2 separate regions of the Homo sapiens genome follow, and region 1 is linked to region 2. The links are contacts of gene promoters, found by promoter capture Hi-C in blood cells and fetal thymus (Javierre and others, 2016). All regions are on one chromosome and are shown on one strand. The core of a region is centred on a gene start or on the middle of the fragment in contact, and the rest is flanking DNA. Distances in the headings are between cores, read along the strand shown.

What was found. The method cuts DNA at HindIII sites, captures the fragments that hold promoters and counts their contacts. A CHiCAGO score of 5 or more calls a contact.
Region 1: a contact is called between a fragment that was not itself captured here and the fragment with the promoter of FSD1L in region 2, in 1 of 17 cell types (total CD8 T cells). The highest score is 5.8, in total CD8 T cells.

The regions. Positions count from the first base shown.
Region 1 is chr9:104,890,846-104,894,478 of GRCh38, forward strand. All of the region lies in intron 2 of ABCA1 (ATP binding cassette subfamily A member 1), which reads right to left. Among named protein-coding and RNA genes, the nearest start is that of ABCA1, 35 kb to the right of the region's middle. The HindIII fragment of the contact is 452 bases long and covers 1,741-2,192 here.
Region 2 is chr9:105,445,649-105,449,425 of GRCh38, forward strand. FSD1L (fibronectin type III and SPRY domain containing 1 like) reads left to right here and starts at 2,386. Exons shown (of 14, transcript NM_001145313.3): 1 at 2,386-2,587. The coding sequence starts at 2,573. RefSeq lists a silencer at 2,267-2,876. The HindIII fragment of the contact is 4,464 bases long and covers 1,312-3,777 here.

The sequences.
Region 1 (3,633 bases), core at 717-3,216, 560 kb before region 2:
AAGGTAAATATAAATCACCTTAATCCTACCTCCCAGAGACAATCCCTAGTAAACTGAAGTAACAATGGATCTCTGTTAACATCTTTTGTCTTTTTTCATGCATACATAAATAATATTTTTTCTCTACAATATTGAGACTATGCAGCATATATACTTTTGTATTCTGTTTTTTCATTTAACATCATACTGGGAGAGCATTTCCCATGACATAAAATATAATCTTAAAACATGTCCTGTAATGTCTACTTGATATTCCACTCTATGAATAGATCATAATTGAACCTTTCTGCTAGGTGCTCGTGCTTCAGATTGTTTTGGGTGTTTTTATTTATTTATTTATTTGTTGTTTTATTTCTGATATTTTTAAAAAACTGTTTTTTATTTCCAAAGACCTTTGATATGGTTCTACATTAAACTCTTTTAAAAAATCTTTTTGGCGATGGATGCAGTGGCTCATGCCTGTAATCACTTTGTGAGGCCAAGGCAGGCGGATCACCTGAGGTCAGGAGTTGGAGACCAGCCTGGCCAACATGGTGAAACCCCATCTCTACTAAAAATACAAAATTTTAGTGAAACGCTGTGTCTACTAAAAATACAAAAATTAGATGGGCATGGGGGTGTATGCCTGTAATCCCAGCTACTTGGGAGGCCAAGGCAAGAGAATCACTTGAACCCAGGAGGCTAAGGCAGGAGAATCACTCGAACCCAGAAGGCCTAGGTTGCAGTGAGCCGAGATCACTGCATGATCACGCCACTGCATGATCAGAGTGAGACTGGGCAGAAGGAAATACAGCAAGATAATGACAGTGGATGTACTAGGATGATAAGAACGTAGGTGTGGCTGGCGCAGTGGCTCCTGCCTATAATCCCAGAACTTTGCGAGGCCAAGGCAGGCGGATCACCTGAGGTCAGGAGTTTGAGACCAGCCTGGCCAACATGGTGAAACCCCATCTCTACTAAAAATACAAAATTAGCCGGGCGTGGTGGTGCATGCCTGTACTCCCAGCTACTTGGGAGGCTGAGGCAGGAGAATCACTTAAACCTGGGAAGCGGAGGTTGCTGTGAGCTGAGATCACGCCACTGCACTCCGGCCTGGGCGACAGAGCAAGACTCTGTCTCTTAAAAAAAAAAAAAAAAAAAAAAAAAAAAAAGTGATGTTTTTAATACTTTCCTGTCTTTTCTAAATTTTCCACAATGAGCATGTATAAATTATCTCATGGAACAAAAAAACACTGTTACCATAAAACTATCAAGAATAGTTTGCATAGACGGCACAACAGAATGAAAAATAAAGGCAAATGGATCCCTCTCTGGAAGAAAGCATGCTGACAGTGGAGTACTCAAGACCAAAGATGGGGCTGGTCTTGCTAATATTTCTGTAAATAATCCCAAAGAGGCAACATACTCAAATTTCCAAGCTTGGGAATGACATTCAGCCTTTTCTTTTTTTTTAATAGCAAACACCTTTTTATTCTGTAGCTTATTTTTTAAGTTGAGATATACATATATATCACATTGCATATCTTAAAGATATACAATTTTTATTTGTCAATTATACCTCAATAAAGCTGGGGGTGGGGGTGGGGAAGAAAGCAATTTTCTTTCTGCCAAAGAACAAAACCATGACTCTATGAAAATGAACTTTTCTCCCAGCTGAGCCAGGACTCCCTCATCTCAATTTCCCCAGGTACTTTGTGTCTGTATCAGCACTTGGTACACCAGGGACCCTATTTATATATAAGCTTCTCCCTTAGGGTCACTTTCTTCTTACTAAGCCTACCACATGATAATGGCTTTAAAAATGTTTGGTGAGTAAATGAGCTGGTTTAAAAGATAATGAACACGGAAATATAAATCAGTTGAGCCCTTTGGGAAAGCAATGTTAACAATACGTATTCAAGAGTCATGTTTATCCCATTTGCCCAATTACTATTCCTGGAAATTCATCCTAGGAAACTGAACTTAAGATATCAAAAAGCTATATGCATAAAGTTATTCATTCATTGAAACATTATAATTGCAAAATATTGGAAACAACTTAATTGCATAGCAATAGGGAAATGATTCAATTATGGTACATGTACTCAACAATATATCATGCCATCATCAGAATAATGTTTATGAAACACAGAAATCATTAGCCATGTAATATTAAGTGAAAAAAGCAGAATACAAAATTATATGCCATTCCAAGCTTGTAGCTGAATAAAATCACTTATAAATATTAACAAAGACAGGAATACAACTTTCCTTTTAAATGGCATGACTGTAAATAAATTTAGAAAATACTTATGAGGCCGGGCGTGGTGGCTCACACCTGTAATCCCAGCACTTTGGGAGGCTGAGGTGGGTTGATCATGAGGTCAGGAGTTCAAGACCAGCCTGGTCAAAAGGGTGAAACCCCATCTCTACTGAAAATACAAAAAAATAGCTGGGCATGGTGGCGGGAGCCTGTAATCCCAGCTACTCGGGAGGCTGAGGCAGGAGAACTGTTTGAACCCAGGAGACAGAGGTTGGGGTGAGCCAAGATCGCTCCATTGCACTCCAGCCTGGGCAACAGAGTGAGACTTCACCTCAAAAAAAAAAAAAAAAAAAAAAAAAAAAAAAGAAAAGAAAATACTAATGAAATTAGGGGAAAAAAATGAAGCTAAACAAAGAGTATGAGTAAGATAAATAGCCATCAGCCTTGAAGCTCTGAAACTACCATTTGTACTTTAAGGATAAATAGTAGCTACTGTTTATTTAGGGCCCAATATGTACAAGGCACATTTTATATTAATTACTTAATTTAATCCTCAGGACAACCCTGTGAGATAGGAAACATTATTGTCTTGATTTTATATGTAGCAAGGCTAAGGCTGGAGGAAGGGTAAATCACAGAGATAGTCAGTAGCGGGGTTGAGATGAGCAGCCAATTCTACCCAACTCAGGAGGCCACATGACATTCTATTTGACACCACGGGTGACTCAGGTAGGAAATGGCCCCACTAGGTGGAATGGTCTAGAAATATCAACAGGATCCAGAGAGGTAAAATTAATTCACAGCTTGTAGATTTATAATACTTACAGCCAATATTGGGCAGCTACTGTGTACTCAAGACGTTTTGTGTATCTCATCTCCAGTATTTAATTCATAATAACCCTGTGAGGTAGGTTGTATCATTACCGTTTTAGAAGTGAAGAAACTGAGGTTTGAACAAGTTACGAGCCATAAGAAACTGCACCAATGTTTGAACCCAGATCTACTGACACTTAAGTGTGTGCTTTTGTACCCATCATGCTGCCATCACAAAGCTATGTTTAGGACATATACCTTTTAAGATATGCCACTTAAAAGAAACCTAGCACTTGCCAGCCCTGCTGAGCACTGATCTGACCCAATTAATCAAGGCTTATGTTCCTGGATATCTCTGCAGCCCCCATATCTAGGATCCTGTAGGGCAGCAGATGCTCAAAATATGTTGGTTGACTGAAAAAAATGAATGGATCTTCCCCATGGCAACTGACAGCAAAGGGCAAACAAAAAATCTTACAAGCCATTTGGAGCAGCTGAAGCTGGTGAGTGTAAGCAGATCAGGAAAAGAGGTTAAAAAAAATTGATGATGATAATAATAATGAAAGGTCTTACTATGT
Region 2 (3,777 bases), core at 1,136-3,635:
CACGCAGTCTGGTGAGTAGACTTTAGATGTTCTCCAATCGCCAGGCTATTTCTCCCTCATGGGAAACTGACTCAACTGCAGTACACAGTGTGAAGGAACGACCTTTGTGGCTGCAGCAGTGGGCTAATGGCTTGGCGCCTGGCTGCACTTGTTATTCCTCACGGAGTTGGGAAAGGTTGAATAAGAGGCTCTCTTCCCTTGGTACTAAGAGATGGGCATCTCTTTGAAGGACTGCATGCCACTACTCCTTTCAGCTGGCACACATAGGCCCACCCTGGACCCTGGCTCTCTAAGCACTACCCACCCAGCCTTAGCCAAGCTCTTCTTTTCCCTTTTGTAACTTTCATTTCATTTCTTGTACATCTCTGTCCAGTTAAAAAAGGATGTATTAAGTGCATACTATGTGGCAGACTCTGAGCTGGGGATACAGATATGGGGTAAAAGAAATTCAGCCCTCAAAAAAAAAATCACAGTACAGTCAGGGGGATCCATGTGGAGATGTAATGACAACATTGTAGAATAAATGCTGTTTCTCAAACACAGAGCTCCTTCTCTCCACAAGGCCTTTGTATTTGTTGTTCCTACTTTCTAGAATGTTCTTCCCTAGATCCTTGTACAATTCCTCTTCTCACTTTATACTCAGGTCATTTCCAAGAGAGATCTTCCCTGACATTTCTATGAAAAATTAAACCCTCCCAATTCTCTGAATCCATTTGCCTTATTTATTTATTTAGGAGCTGGGGTCTCACCCTGTTGCCCAGGCTGGAGTGCAGTGGTGTGATCTAGGCTCACTGCAACCTCTGCCTCCAGGACTCAAGTGATCCTCCCGCTTCAGCCTCCTGATTGGCTCTGGCTACAGGCTTGCAGCACCACGTCTGGCTAATTTTTTTTTTTTTAATTTCTGTAGAGATGGGGTTTTGCCATGTTGCCCAGGCTGGTCTCGAACTCCTGGACTCAAGTGATCCACTCATTGGGCCTCCCAAAGTGTTGGGATTACAGGTGTGAGCCACCATGCCTGGCCTAAGTTTTAATTTTAGCACCTATAACCGTCTAGCACGTTAACTTTTTTTTTTTTTTTGGTTGGTCTTCTATACTAGATTGTAAGCTCTGTGAGAGAAACAGGGCCTTGCCCACTACTGAATTTTGTTTGTAGAACTGGTACAGAATAGGTACTCAATATGTATTTCCCTTTTATTCATTCATCATAAATGACTGTCTAATTGAACTTTTGTGAGCCTCTCCAGAGTCATCCAAATGGAAGATGAGGCCTGTCTGCTTGAGGAAGAACTTTCTCAAGCCTACTAAATTCCAAGCTTTCTAAAATCTTCATTGATGCCTCAGGCCACACCGAGCAGGTTCTAACTCCCCACTAAGAATGACTATAATGGGCCTGGCACATGCCCTGTAACCCACACCTGTAATCCTAGCAATTTGGGAGGCTGAGGTGGGCGGACTGCCTGAGCTTAGGAGTTCGAGACCATCCTAAGCAACATGGCTAGAACCAGTCTCCGCTAAAAGTACAAAAAATTAGCCAGGTGTGGTGGGGGCGCCTGTAATCCCAGCTACTCATGAGGCTGAGGCACGAGAATTCCTGGAACCCGGGAGGCAGAGGTTGCAGTGAGCCAAGATGGCACCACTGCACTCCAGCCTCGGTGACAGACCGAGACTCCATCTCCAAAAAAAAAAAAAAAAAAAAAAAAAGAGAATGACTATAATTTATTCACTACTAATTATGTACCATACGTTATTTAATCCTCACAATCCTCTGCAAAGTCCGCATTATTTCTCTCATTTTACAGATGAAACAAGCTCAGGCAGACTGACTTGCTCAAAATCATACAGGTAGCGAGGTGCCGGGGAGGATGGGTGGGTCCCCGGGAAAAACTGTGCCAGGCCCCAAAGCTCATATTAATCCCACACCCACGTTTCCGCCACTCTCATCCCTATATCCCTCCTCCCACGTTTCCACCACATCCCCTAAAGGTCTTTTCCCACGTTTTCGCTACATCCCCACCCCAGCCCTTTTCCTCCCTTTGGACCGCTGGGTCCGCTCAAGCCTGGCTGCCCCTCGAAGGATAGTGTGGGGAGGGGCTTCAGATGCGTGCTGGGTGGAGGGTGGGCTAATCCGTCTCCAGCACCAGATACTCTTTCCTTCCCGGGCCCTCCGCACCGGCCGGCTGCTGGATGCCCAGTGGCCTATTTCAGGGCCGGAGAGACCGCTATCGCTGGAGGAAAAAGGATGGGGGAAGGGAGTGCAGCCTGCAGAGGCACTAGCGGTAGACAGACGGGCGGCGCTCCCCACCCTCCACGGCTACTTCCCGGGAGCAGTCAGCCGCTGCGCGCAGGCGCGGTGCGCTCCTCAGCCCCTCCCTTCTGCGGGCCGCCCTTTCACCCTGGCAACCGCGGCGTGACTACGGCGCGCGCGGTCTGGGCGCGGACGGGTGGGGCCGGGCGGTGCCGGTGCGGGCTGGGGCAGTGCAGTGAGTAGCGGTCTTGGGGTGTGCGATCTCGCTGAGCCTCCTCACACGGTTCGTCGTCTCGGGTTCGAGCCCAGTGGGCTTAGCCACTCGCCATGGACTCCCAGAAAGTAAGCGGGGGAGGGGAGCCCGGGGCTACCGAGACAAGCCGGGCCGGCACAGGGTGGGCGGGGCGCCTGGGCCCGTGGGCTGTGGGTGCGCGGGGTGGGCCTGGCCGGGCGTCCGGGCTGCTGCTGCGGAGGGCAAGGCCGCCCGGCCGCTCTCTGGGCGGGAGCTAAGAGGCGCCCACACGGATGCGGGGACCGCGCCCGGTGACTCGGGCTGGCCTCTGCTCTGCGCGCTGTCCGGGGCCCTGACTCTGGAGGAGAAACGGAGCCATCCCCCTTTTAAAATCAGCCACTCTGCAGCGCTTTAGGCCGGTTTTCATGCCTGCAGACTGCGAGCGTGCTGGTGGGGGTGTATCCCTCCTCAGCAGGTGAGGAAACCGAGGCACAGCCTTTTTGGTGTCTCCCTGCTGACGCCGAAAGCTGGGGCTTTCTCCTCGACCAAGTCTCGTCTCAGCACCACGCTCTTTAGGTCAGGGACCGAATCTCCTTTGTACCGCCCACCGCTCCCCTTCCCATGACTTTTCCTAAGTAGATCTTAGTGTTTAGTGTTCGTTGAATGGAGGGAAAAGACTTCAATTGTTAGGGCAGCCTTCCCACTCTCTGACCAGTTGGTGTTGCTGGGCACAGTTACTTAGGGGTCGTTGTGGAATGTTTTATACTTTCCGAACAGTTGAGGAAAGGTTATATAATCGTAAAGGTTCAATTCAGAAGTATTTGGAGAACAAAGCCAATGTCTTGAATACAGTTAGAAGTGAATTATTCAGTCATAATCTCCATATGAAAATAACCACCCTGTTCTCTTTGTTAGACTATAACGTAATTGAAATATAGTACAGGGTAGGAAAGAAAAAACAAGGAGTATTAATAATGTAGCAGGGAAAACAAAGACATATCTAAGAGACTATTCTTTTCTATTATTAGAAAGCACGGGAAAGACTTAGAACAACGTTTTCTACAATTTTGTCTACATTCACCTTCTTGAGGATCACTTCACTGAGGGCATGAGAGAATAATGATGTGTTGAGCATTGACTATTACAGTATTTAACAAATATGCATATGATTTCATTGTATGTGTTGGTCTTGAAACTCACCTTGGAATGCATGACTATTCTTAAGGCATTTTTTAAAAATTAGATTTTGTGTATTTTGAGTATGTATAGGTTTAAAATATTGTCTCTGCCTAAATTTGTA